3 separate regions of the Homo sapiens genome follow, and regions 2 and 3 are each linked to region 1. Evidence: promoter capture Hi-C in human tissues and cell types (Jung and others, 2019). All regions are on one chromosome and are shown on one strand. Each heading gives the region's core, a stretch centred on a gene start or on the middle of the fragment in contact. The rest is flanking DNA. Distances are from core to core; before and after follow the strand shown. Region 1 holds the start of FANCG (FA complementation group G). Region 2 overlaps ARID3C (AT-rich interaction domain 3C). Region 3 holds the start of CCL27 (C-C motif chemokine ligand 27).

What was found. The method cuts DNA at HindIII sites, captures the fragments that hold promoters and counts their contacts. A contact is called where the count stands out against the background at its distance.
Region 2: a contact is called between a fragment that was not itself captured here and the fragment with the promoter of FANCG in region 1, in 1 of the 25 tissues and cell types used here (dorsolateral prefrontal cortex).
Region 3: the fragment with the promoter of CCL27 here is called in contact with the fragment with the promoter of FANCG in region 1 in 1 of the 25 tissues and cell types used here (dorsolateral prefrontal cortex).

Annotation. Positions count from the first base shown.
Region 1 is chr9:35,078,692-35,082,411 of GRCh38, forward strand. It overlaps FANCG (FA complementation group G), which reads right to left and starts at 1,251. Exons shown (of 14, transcript NM_004629.2): 1 at 750-1,251; 2 at 460-550; 3 at 1-45. The coding sequence starts at 833. RefSeq lists enhancers at 273-880, 2,097-2,703 and a silencer at 956-1,121. The HindIII fragment of the contact is 6,213 bases long and covers 1-3,720 here.
Region 2 is chr9:34,621,337-34,625,056 of GRCh38, forward strand. ARID3C (AT-rich interaction domain 3C) reads right to left here. Exons shown (of 8, transcript NM_001017363.4): 4 at 2,528-2,711; 5 at 2,089-2,378; 6 at 1,011-1,193; 7 at 684-773; 8 at 1-222. The coding sequence ends at 122. Among named protein-coding and RNA genes, the nearest start is that of DCTN3, 2.7 kb to the left of the region's middle. RefSeq lists an enhancer at 2,858-3,406. The HindIII fragment of the contact is 5,541 bases long and covers 1-3,720 here.
Region 3 is chr9:34,660,639-34,664,358 of GRCh38, forward strand. It overlaps CCL27 (C-C motif chemokine ligand 27), which reads right to left and starts at 2,019. Exons shown (of 3, transcript NM_006664.4): 1 at 1,926-2,019; 2 at 1,646-1,778; 3 at 1,252-1,441. The coding sequence starts at 1,995. The coding sequence ends at 1,306. IL11RA (interleukin 11 receptor subunit alpha) reads left to right here. Exons shown (of 13, transcript NM_001142784.3): 12 at 216-298; 13 at 844-1,264. The coding sequence ends at 860. It overlaps LOC730098, which reads right to left. Exons shown (of 3, transcript NM_001320038.2): 3 at 3,525-3,720. The HindIII fragment of the contact is 14,352 bases long and covers 116-3,720 here.

The sequences.
Region 1 (3,720 bases), core at 1-2,500:
TGACAGTCAGCTCCAAGGGAAGAACAGGAACAGCTGCAGGGAGCCCTGGAGCAACAATGTTGGTCTTACAGACTGCTCCCCCATGGAAGATCCTCCAAATAAAATCCCAACTCAGAGATCACCCCACTCCAACCAAAACAGCTACAATAAAGAACCCACCCTCCAGCCAATTAGCTAAGGATTTAAAAAAAGAACCCAACCTTTGGACAGAGAGTCTGGAAAGGGCAAAAAAGTTATCCAGATCAGACCATCTTGGAAACCATTTTTCAAATGCCACTCTGTGAGTGTGTAAGGAAGAGAGGGATTTGCCTGTACAAAGATGATTCCACTCCAGTCTCCTCTGTGCCTTAAACAGGACTCCCTGCCCCGAGTAATTATATCGATCCCAAAAACGCAGGAGCGGATGTTTCTCTGGCTATGGAAGAGGGGAACTGACCATCCTGGGGAGGACCCGCCTACCTTGCAGACTATGGAGGAGCCCTCTGAGCCCTTCCAGTGCATCCTGAGCCAACTGCTGTCGCCTCAGAGTCAGACCGGAGTTCTGAGCCACCTGCCACATGAGGGAGGGGTTGTCACTGAGGATCAATCCTTTTTTCTCCCCTTGCAGCAGTGGCAAGGGATGCATTCTCCAGTCATTTCTGGCTCTTTGGTCAAGCTCAGTCCCTCCCCATCGGTTGGGGTAAATCCACTGCAAACCCGCTTTCAGGGATCTTGAGGCTGCAAACCGAGGGTGCCAGCAACCGTGTTACCTTGGCCTGTCGAACGAGCCGGTCATTCTTTTCCCTCCACAGGTCCAGGCAGCTGGAGCCCACAGAGGTGGTCTGGCGGGACATGGTGGCCGAGGCTGGGCCCGGAGACCAGAAGCGGACTTAGGAAGGGTGAAGCTGGCCTGCCCAAGCTCCCAACCCCAGCGGGGAGGGGCCTGGGCACTTCTGCACCCCGCCGAGCTCCCCTGCTTCTCTCGGGGTCCCAATCCACCCGCCCAGGCTTTCCAGGACAGATGGGACGCTCTCTCCCCGCGGCCCGCCGGGCTCTCAACCTCGCCTCTGGTTGGCCGGGTCTGCGAAGCTCTGGGCTGCGGTTGGTCCTCTTGAAGAGTTAGTTCCCGCGGGAAACTCGGGGAGGAAACGAGTCAGCAACCCCAAACAGGCTTAGGCGGGCTAGAAGCCGGGGTCGTGTCTGACTGGGGCAGTCGCACGGCCGGCGGTGCGGCCCGCTCGGCTCTCGCGGAGGCCACAGCCTCGAGAAAGGGTGGGCGGGAGCGAGTTTCGGCCCCACAGTCCGTGGCTCGGCCCTTCCTCGCTGCCACACCCCCAGGTCCTCCTGGGTTCCCGCTTCCACCGAGGGCCGACTGCGAGGTGCATGCTGGGAGTCGTAGTACCGCACCGGGGCGGAACAGCTCCGCCCCGGCGGATGGTGTTTCCAGAAAGCGGTAACTGGAGACGAGGGCGCTCCGTAATCGTCCATCCTTTCTCTGCTCACTGTCGAGCACCAACACGCTCACCAAGGTCGGCTTTCTACCGCGTGTAGTCTGCTGGCAGTGCCGCTCTGTACTTGCACTGCTCAAAAGTACCTGCCCAATCATTTCAAATTAAATGGAGCTAGGAGAATTGAATATCCATATGCAAAAAAAAAAAAAAAAAAAGACAGGAAAGAAAAGAACGCGACCATACATACGTACATAAAATCAACTCAATGGATCACAAACTAAATATAAGAGCCAAAAATATAAAACTTCTAAAAGAAAACGTAAAGCAGCCTAACTAACATGGTGAAACCTTCTCTACAAAAATACAAAAATTAGCAGGGCGTGGTGTCGTGCGCCTGTAATCCCAGCTACCCCGGAGGCTGAGGCGGAAGAATCGCTTGAACCCGGGTGGCGGAGGTTGCAGTGAGCCGACATCGTGCCATTGCACTCCAGCCTGGGTGACAGAGTGAGACTCCGTCTCAAAAAAAAAAAAAAAAGAAAACGTAAGAGAACAGCTTTATGACCTTGGGTTTGGCAACAAGTTGTTAGACACAGCACTAAAAGCTTGTACAATTTAAAAAAAAGTTAACTTTATTAAAATTAAAAACTCTTGTACTACAAAGACATCATTAAGAAGTCATACGCTGGGGCCGGGCGCCGTGGCTCACGCCTGTGATCCCAGCACTTTGGGAGACCGAGGCGGGCGGATCACGAGGTCAGGAGATCGAGACCATCATGGCTAACACGGTGAAACCCCGTCTCTACTAAAAATACAAAAAATTAGCCGGGCGATGTGGCGGGCGCCTGTAGTCCCAGCTACTCGGGAGGCTGAGGCAGGAGAAAGGCGTGAACCCCGCGGGCCAGAGCCTGCAGTGAGCCGAGATCGCCCCACTGCACTCCAGCCTGCGCAACAGCGAGACTCCATCTCAAAAAAAAAAGAAAAGAAAAGAAAAGAAAAGAAGAAAAATCATAGGCTGGATGTGGCTCATGCTGTAATCCCAGCACTTTGGGAGGCTGAGGCTGGAGGATTCCCTGAAGCCAGGAGTTCAAGACCAGCCTAGGCAACAAAGATGGTGTCTTTTGTAGAGACATTATCTCTACAAAAAATTTAAAACATTAACCCTGGCACAATAACACACCTGTAGACCCAGCTACTTGGGAGGCTGAGGTGGGAGGAGCCCTTGAGCCTAGGAGTTCCAGGTTGCAGTGAGCCATGATCACACCACTGCCCTCCAGCCTGAGTAACAGAGTGAGACCCTGCCTCAAAAAAAGAAAGGTCACAGTCACAGAGTGGGAGAAACTACTTGCTAATTATATACCTCATAAGGGACTGGTATCCCTAACACATAAAAACTCCCAAAACTCAAGAAAAAGATTTTTAAAAACAATCTTAGCTGGGTGTGGTGGTTCATGCCTGTTATCCCAGCACTTTGGGAGGCTGAGGTGGGAGGATCATTTGAGCCTCAGAAGTTTAAGACCTGCCTGGGCAACATAGCAAAACCCCACCTCTACAAAAAAAATACAAAAATTAGCTGGGCATGGTGGCACACACCTGTAGTCCCATCTACTCGGGAAACTTAGGTGGGAGGATCACCTGAGCTCAGGGATGTCGAAGCTGCAGTGAGCCATGATTGAGCCACTGCACTCCAGCGTGGGCAACAAAGTGAGACCCTGTCTCAAAACAAAACAAAAAACAATTTTAAGATGGACCAAAAAAAAAAAAAAAGACATTTTACCAAAAAAGATCTACTAATGGCTAAGAAACACATAAAAAGATGCTCGGCATTATTAGCTATTAGAGAAACACAGTTAAAAACATGGCCAGGGCCGGGCCATGTTATGCCTGTAATCCCAGCACTTTGGGAGGCTGAGGTGGATGGATCACTTGAGGTCAGGAGTTCAAGACCAGCATGGCCAACTTGGTGAAACCTCGTCTCTACTAAAAATACAAAAATTAGGCAGGCATGGTGGTGCATGCCTGTAATCCCAGCTACCTGGGAAGCTGAGGTGGGAGAATGGCTTGAACCCGGAAGGTGGAGGTTGCAGTGAGCCGAGATCCTGCCACTGAACTCTAGCCTAGGTGACACAGCGAGACTTCGTCTCAAAAAATAAAAAAACGCTTCACACAGCCGGGCGTGGTGGCTCACACCTTTAATCCCAGCACTTTGGGAGGCTGAGGCAGGTGGATCACTTGAGGCCAGGAGTTTGAGACCAGCCAAGCCAACAGGGCAAAACCCTGTCTCTACTGCAAA
Region 2 (3,720 bases), core at 749-3,248, 460 kb before region 1:
TGGGAGGTGTCGTCCCCTCCCAGGGCTGGGTCCCAGAGTGGGCAGCCAGAAAGAATCAAAGCAGGGGGTCTCCTCCCCCCTCAGCAATGGGGCTGGGACTCTTAGTTTCAAGTAGGACCTCTCAGGGCAAGATGCTGGAAGGGGGCCCTGTGGAGGGTGGGGGTGCAGGGTTGGTTGGACCCTGGGAAGCTGGCACAGGCTGGCGGCGGGCAAAGAGGACACCTGGCAAAGGGGTGAGGAGATGGTAGAGGGCAAAAACAAGCAGGAGGGGGTAGGGTATGGAAACAGAAGAGGGGAACAAAAGTAAGTGTTCTGGTTGCTAGAACACTACACACGTACCCCTGCCACAAACCAATGAGGACAAGCTCCTTGGGTCAGTAAGAGACTCCATTGCTAATGTAGATACCTCAAACAGGTAAACAAGGAATATTTATGCTGATACATAGGCCCAAGACAAGGCAGACATCCCCTGGTACTCATGCCAGAGAGGTCATGCCTTGGATCCCATGCCATGTAGACACCCCCTTTAACCCATGCCAGTCTAGCAATCCCCTGAACTCCATGTTACTCATGCAAGTTTAGATATCCCTGAACTTCATGCTAGTAGAGGAAGTCTAAAATCCCCATGCCAGCCTAAATACCCCTGACCCCATGCCAGTGTAGACAGCCTGCAGTACCCATACCAGTGTAGACCACCCCGTTGATCTCTAGGGCCATGTTGATACTGCTGATGCCACTGCCTGCCAGATTAAGAGGCCCATCCAGCCGCTCTTCTGTCCAGGAGGGGGCAGAGGAATCACATTTTGGAGAATCAGACTTCTGACTTATTAATAGAATTTCCCCCCTCCATCCCCGTAGACAGCCCCCATTCCACTTCAGCCCCACACCTATACTCACACAGTTGTCTACAGAGGAATCTGTCTGCCCCGTCTCTAACACCTATCAGGTGATGGGTCAATCCTCCCTCAGTGTACAGTCCCGAAGCCCCCTCACAACAAGCCCCTCCTCACCCCTCAGGGGAACCTTGCCACGGGGCAGGAAACTGGGGGGCATGCAAGGTCGAGGTGGGTCCATAGGCCCCATCAGCACAGCTCTCTTCTCTGGGGGCTCCTCTGGTGCCAATTTCTCCCGTGTAGGTCCCAGTGCCAGGCCCACAGGCAGTGCCAGACAAGGGTTTGGAATTCCACTCTCCTCTAGAAGAACAGGTTATTCAGCTCCCCTGGCCAAACCAACCCATCTCTGCATTGGTTCTCCCCCAGGCCTGGGACCAAAAGAGGTAACTCAAGCTCATGTACCAATCTCTCATCCTTCATTCGATCTATCTTCCCATCCAGAGCCTCAGCCTGGAAGCGCTGAAGCTTTTCTCTAGAGCCCAAAGGATCAAGGTACATGTCTAGACAATTTGGGGGATTGTTTTTGGCTGTTGGTTATTAAATAATCCAGGTCACAAGAGGCACAAACTATATGCAAATAGGAGCACTGGGTGGACATGTGTGGAATGGAGTTGCTGTGATTAAAGGACCTTTTCCTGGCCGGGCGCGGTGACTCAGCCTGTAATCCCAACACTTTGGGAAGCGGAGGAGGGCGGATCACGTGGTCAGGAGATCGAGACCATCCTGGCTAACACGGTGAAACCCCGTCTCTACTAAAAATACAAAAATTAGCCGGGCATGGTGGCGGGCCCCTGTAGTCCCAGCTACTCGGGAGGCTGAGGCAGGAGAATCGCTTGAACCCGGGAGGCGGAGGTTGCCGTGAGCTGAGATCGCGCCACTGCACTCCAGCCTGGGCGACGGAACGAGACTCCGTCTCACAAAAAAAAAAAAAAAAGAAAAAAAGAAAAAAAAGGACCTTTTCCTGAACTTCAGCCCCTACACTTCAGTAACCCGTACCCCAGAGCTCTCATTTGGCCGCAAACCTCAGGACCCCTAAACCTTAGTGACCCCCAAACCTCAGAAGCCCGTCAGACCTTACTGCTCCCATACCTCAATGCCTCCCCAGACCTCAATCCTCACATTTTAATGGTTGCTATATCTTAGCGCCCACCTAAACCTCAGAGACCCCGAAACCTCTACCATTCTCCCCTCGCACCTTTCTTAATAGGGCTTGGACTCAGCTGAGCGCATGCATGCGCTGGCAGGCCGGAGGTGGAACCCTGGGCTGGGCCAGGGCTGGACTGGGTCGCCGGAGGGGCGGGGCCGGGACCCAAGGCTGGGTCCTGAGCGCCCCGAGGGGGCGGCCCTGCCAAGCCGAAGAGCGGAGTAGCGGTGTAAGCCTGGCGACGGCCCTCGCGCCGATTGCTGTCTATGGCGGCCTGGAGCTCCCCTGGGGAGCTGAGCGCTCGAGTCTCGCACTCGTACGGGTACAGGTACTTCATGTACCTAGGGGCGGACAGCGGGCGGTGAGTGTATGGGAGGCTGCACCCAGCTGGTCAAGTCCCACAGCCGGACGCCCGCCCGGGGACCCTCCCCCCTCCCGCCCCAGGCCGAACCCGTGCCCCCTTCCCTTCCGCTCCCGCCCCTGGCCTCACTGGGTGCGTAGAGTGAAGGCGGCCGAGGTGATGGTGGTGGGTAGGCTGAGGCCGCGCGTGACTTCCCGCCACACTTTGCGGTTGATGACTTCCACCAGGCCGCCCTTGGCGGTCACCAGGCGAAACAGAGCGTACAGGTCGAGCACCTGCTTCGCCATGATGGGCACGCGGTTCACTGGCGTCCCTGGTGGGGAGCGGGCTGCCGTCAGGACACTGAGACGAAGACCCTGTCTGCAGCATCCCCAGGGACTGATACAGGACGGGAGCCCCGGGGAGGGCGGGAAAGAGGGAGACTTGGGCGGAGCCCACAGAACCCCAGGGTCTCTGTTTTAGCAAGAAGGACAGGAGGCTAGAACGGGGGGGGGCAAAGTTCTGTAAAAGGCCAGATGGCTAAATGGTCTCTGTCACAACTACTCAACGCTGTCATTGTAGCCTAAAGGCGGCCATAGAGAATACCTGAAGGAATGGATGCGGCTGTGTTCCAATAATATAGACTCTGAAATTCGAATTTCACCAGTCTGGAGATGTTATTCATCTTTAAATTTTGTCCCCCAACTATTTAAACAAGTAAAAACCATTCTTATCTTGCAGGCAGCTGGGTTTGGCCTGCAAACTTTAGTTTGCTGTCCCCTGGGGTAGACCGCAGGAAGGACTTTCGGACAGTGCTGAAGAGCCGGCCTCCCCTAAGCAGCAGCCCCCGGGTGGCTGCCCAAGGCTGGGGGATGACGGGCGGGAAAAGAATCAACTCCCGCCTCGGCCCGCCGACTCCGCAGCCCGCGCCGCCCCCGCCGGCCAGTCCTGACAAAGGGGCCTGTCTGCGCTGAGCGATGGGCCCCAGTTAATTCCTTACCGATCCCGTCCCCTTCCGCCGCGCCTTTGGACCCGAACAATTAGCTGCGGCCTGATTAATGGGGGAAAATTATCGGCCCCGCGGGACCCCCTCCCCCTGCAGCTGGAGCGGTGGGAGGCAGGGACCGAAGGGAGGCAGGCAATGCTGGGATCGGTTCACACCCGCTACCCCAGTGGAGGGGAGGCCTCGAGGAAGGGCCAGAGAGGGAACACTGGAACCAGAATGGGCCTCCCTGGGAACCAAAAGGACTTAGGTCCCTACTGAGGGTCCCTGGGAAGGTAAGGGACCAGAAAGAGGTGCTGGGGTGAGGGCCGGGAGTGGGAAGTGGGCCAGCAGCTGCACT
Region 3 (3,720 bases), core at 769-3,268, 420 kb before region 1:
ACACATGCTCTGATGCCCATAGACCACATTCATCTCCACCCTTCATGACTGCCCGCTGAACCTGTCTGATTCTGGAACTACCTCCCCATACCTCCATCCCCCATGCCCCACTTGATTTTAACTGATTCCTCTCCTGACCCTTTACTAATAAACCCTTTGGCGGAGACTGAGATAACCCACATTGTTGGAGAGACAGCTGCCTTTCTATGCCCCAGGCTGAGGCTGAGACGGGGTGGGAAGGATGGATCCCCAAAGCCTGGGTTCTTGGCCTCAGTGATTCCAGTGGACAGGCGTCCAGGTGAGTAGGACATCCAGAAGATTTGGACTTGGAGATGTTTGCCCCTATTTTGAGTGTCCAGATTAAGAGCTGGCTGCCCTAGTCATTTTAAAACATGCTGGGAATCCAAGTTGGGTCTCCTCATTTTAATGATGTCTAGGCTGAGGGCTGGGCCTTTCATTCTTGAGTCCCTGGGCTCAGAAGTGGGTCTCTTTCCCTCCTCTCAGGGTACTGAGGAAGGACCCCAGGTGGACTTCCCTTCAGGGTATTAGTATTAGTACTAATACTCTTCCAGGGTATTAGACTCAGAGCTGGATATTCATCCTTTTTTTTCAAGGTGTCTTGGATCAGTGCTAGGTCCCCTCCTTCATTCTTAATGTGCCTGGGCCCAGAGCTAGGTCCACTCCCGTATCTTCAGTGTGTTGAAGAGGCTCCCTCAGAGCTGGGCTCCTCTACTCATCTTCAGAGTGTTAAGCTTAGAACTGAGTCACCTCCCTCATTCTCAGGGTGTCTGGGCCAAGATCCGGTCTTACTGTCTCTCCTGATTTGCCTCCTGCTTCTTCTAGGAGCTCCAAACCTGTAGAGGACCCAGGAGGGCTTCGGCAGATTCCACCTATAATTCTGTCTTGCTGGTGTGGATAGAAACCAGGCAGGACAGTAGATCCCTATGGTTGGATCTCAGCTGGAAGTTCTGTTTGGAGCCCATTTCTGTGAGACCCTGTATTTCAAATTTGCAGCTGAAAGGTGCTTGTACCTCTGATTTCACCCCAGAGTTGGAGTTCTGCTCAAGGAACGTGTGTAATGTGTACATCTGTGTCCATGTGTGACCATGTGTCTGTGAGGCAGGGAACATGTATTCTCTGCATGCATGTATGTAGGTGCCTGGGGAGTGTGTGTGGGTCCTTGGCTCTTGGCCTTTCCCCTTGCAGGGGTTGTGCAGGTGTGAATAAAGAGAATAAGGAAGTTCTTGGAGATTATACTCAGAAATTATTATCCAATGCTGCTTTATTATTTGGCTATTGGGGGCTTCAGCCCATTTTCCTTAGCATCCCAAAATTCAGCTTGGGCAGAGTCCCATGGAGCTTTCTCTCTTGGTGCTCAAACCACTGTGACAGGCTGGGGTTCTGGGGGTGGATGCAGATGCTGCGTTGAGCCAGGTGAAGCCTGGGTAGAGAAAGGTCCAAAGCTATGACCATAGCTTGGGGATGAGATTAGGGTCATCCCCAATGACCCTAATTAGGGGTTAGGAGCAAGGACCAGATGAAAACCTGAGTTGGCAACAGAATTAGCAGTTAGGGCTGGGGTTGGGATCAGCATTAGGGGTTGGGACTGAGGTCAGAGTCAGGGGTATCAGGGGTGGGAGCTCACACGAAAGCCTGGAGGTGACAGTCCCCGTCAGCCTCCTGCAGTTCCACCTGGATGACCTTCCTCAGTAGCTTGTCTGAGAGTGGCTTTCGGTAGAGCTGAGTACAGCAGGCAGTGCTGGGTGGCAGTAGGAATGCTAGGGGCAACAGGGCCATGTGTTCAGAGGGATCCTGACCAAGAACCTCTCTGCCAGACAGCTGGAGGTTAGGTTGGATTTCCTGGGTCTTTTCAACTTCATCCCATTCACCCAGACCCCCAGCTTTCTATACCCCCAAGTACTCACCTGCTGTAGGGTCTGGGCTCAGGAGCAATGACAGCAGCAGGAGGCTGCAGAAGGTTGGGGGCCCCTTCATGTTGCTCAGCCTAGACTCTTCCTTCTCTCTCTCTCCTCCTCCCCTACCTTTTATCTGGGTGCCTTTTACCTGGGGCACTAGGTGAGTCAGAGGCAGTTGGAGATGTACTGTGTAACCTGTGACACTCCTGGGCCCTAATTCTCGGCCTGTTGCCACAGACTCCTTCCTCATCTAGGATAGCCATTTCCCATGTGCTCCTAAGCTCTGGGCAGTGAAGCTGGGGGAAGGATTAGTGTGTGATGTAGGGACTGATGGAACAGTGAGTAAGGGCAGTCAAGCATCCACAGCAGCATCTAATGATAGACATTCACACTCAAATACGCATAGCCACACATTCAAAGTCACTCCTCAATCACTTGGTCAACCTCACAAAGTCATACTCATGATCAGACAACCGTAGACAAAATTATATAGCCCCGGTTATACTCAAAGTCCCTCTCCCACCCAATTGTGTTTTCACAGTCATCCAATCACAAGCAAATTCACACTAGCACACACAGATTCTGACAGGGGAGTTGTGGGTGGGGTGGGAGCAGAGGGCAGGCAAGCACCAACTTGCCTTCACCTTCTCCTCCCCACTTCCTGGCTTGGCCTGCCTGTCTTATCAGAAGAAATGGATGGGAATGGGTCCCTAGAGCAGGCCCTTCTGGCTGAGGAGGGTTCTTGGCTGAGGCCAGCCCCATTCAGAGAAGCTGGGGGAAGGCCCTTTATGGTAATATTAAGGGTGTTTTGGAGATGCTGAGGTGGGGCAGCTTTCCCCAGGATGATGAGACAGGGAGGAAAGGTGGGGTAGATAAGGAGGGAAGATAAAAGCTCTTTGGTGCTAGGTTACTGTTGTCAAAACAGGTAAAAGGCCCAGTGAATCTTACCTTCCTGTTTTTGTCTAGTCCTGTTCCAGGAATGCCAACCTCTTGCCAGCAGGGGCCTAGGGTCTCCAGATCCAGTCCCTGACTTGTTGAAGACATTGGACTCAAGCACTCAATTACATCTTTGTTTTACTCAAATTCCAGCCTCCTTCCTGGGCCTGGAGGAACATCCCCTCTCCCTACCCGGGTTCAGTCACACCCTCATGTCCAACTGCTATACCCCCTGCATCCCACCCTCCAGCTATAGCCGCTTCTCTCCTAATCCCATACCCAGCTGTCACTCCGTTCTTTACCCCCTCCCTGCAATGCAAAGCTCCTATTCATCTTTATCCAGTCCTTTCCAGGAAGCTGGGAGCTGCCTAGGGTGGGGGTATGCTGCCAAGTTCAGTGCCCCTGGCTCCTTTAAGAATTTCCCACTCCTGGTCCAGGGATCTCAATCTGCAAGTCCTGCTCTATATTTGAAACATAAACCAAGTCATAACACAGTAATCCAGCCCTTATCTTGTTGCAGTCGTCTGCTGTAGGGTCAGCCACTCTCTATGGAGTAGGCTTTCTCTTGGGATAGGGCTTAGGCCTTTCTCTTGTGTCCCAAGGCTTGTTGGGTGTAGCCACTGAGGAAATCCCAAGGAAATCTCCCAGGTTCCTCGGGCTTGTCATAGACCTTCTTCATCACTTGGCTGTGCGCTACATACTTTCTGGTCTTCCCTGGGCTTGTCGGTCCAGAAGTCTTCGGAAGGCAGAAAACAAATGCTTTTGGGTGTGCACCCATCTCTCCCCTTTAAGACCAAGTCTTCTCCCCAGCCACAATCTGCTGTAGCTTTGGCCCCAGCCAGAAACTGGGCCATCTCTTTCTTTAACT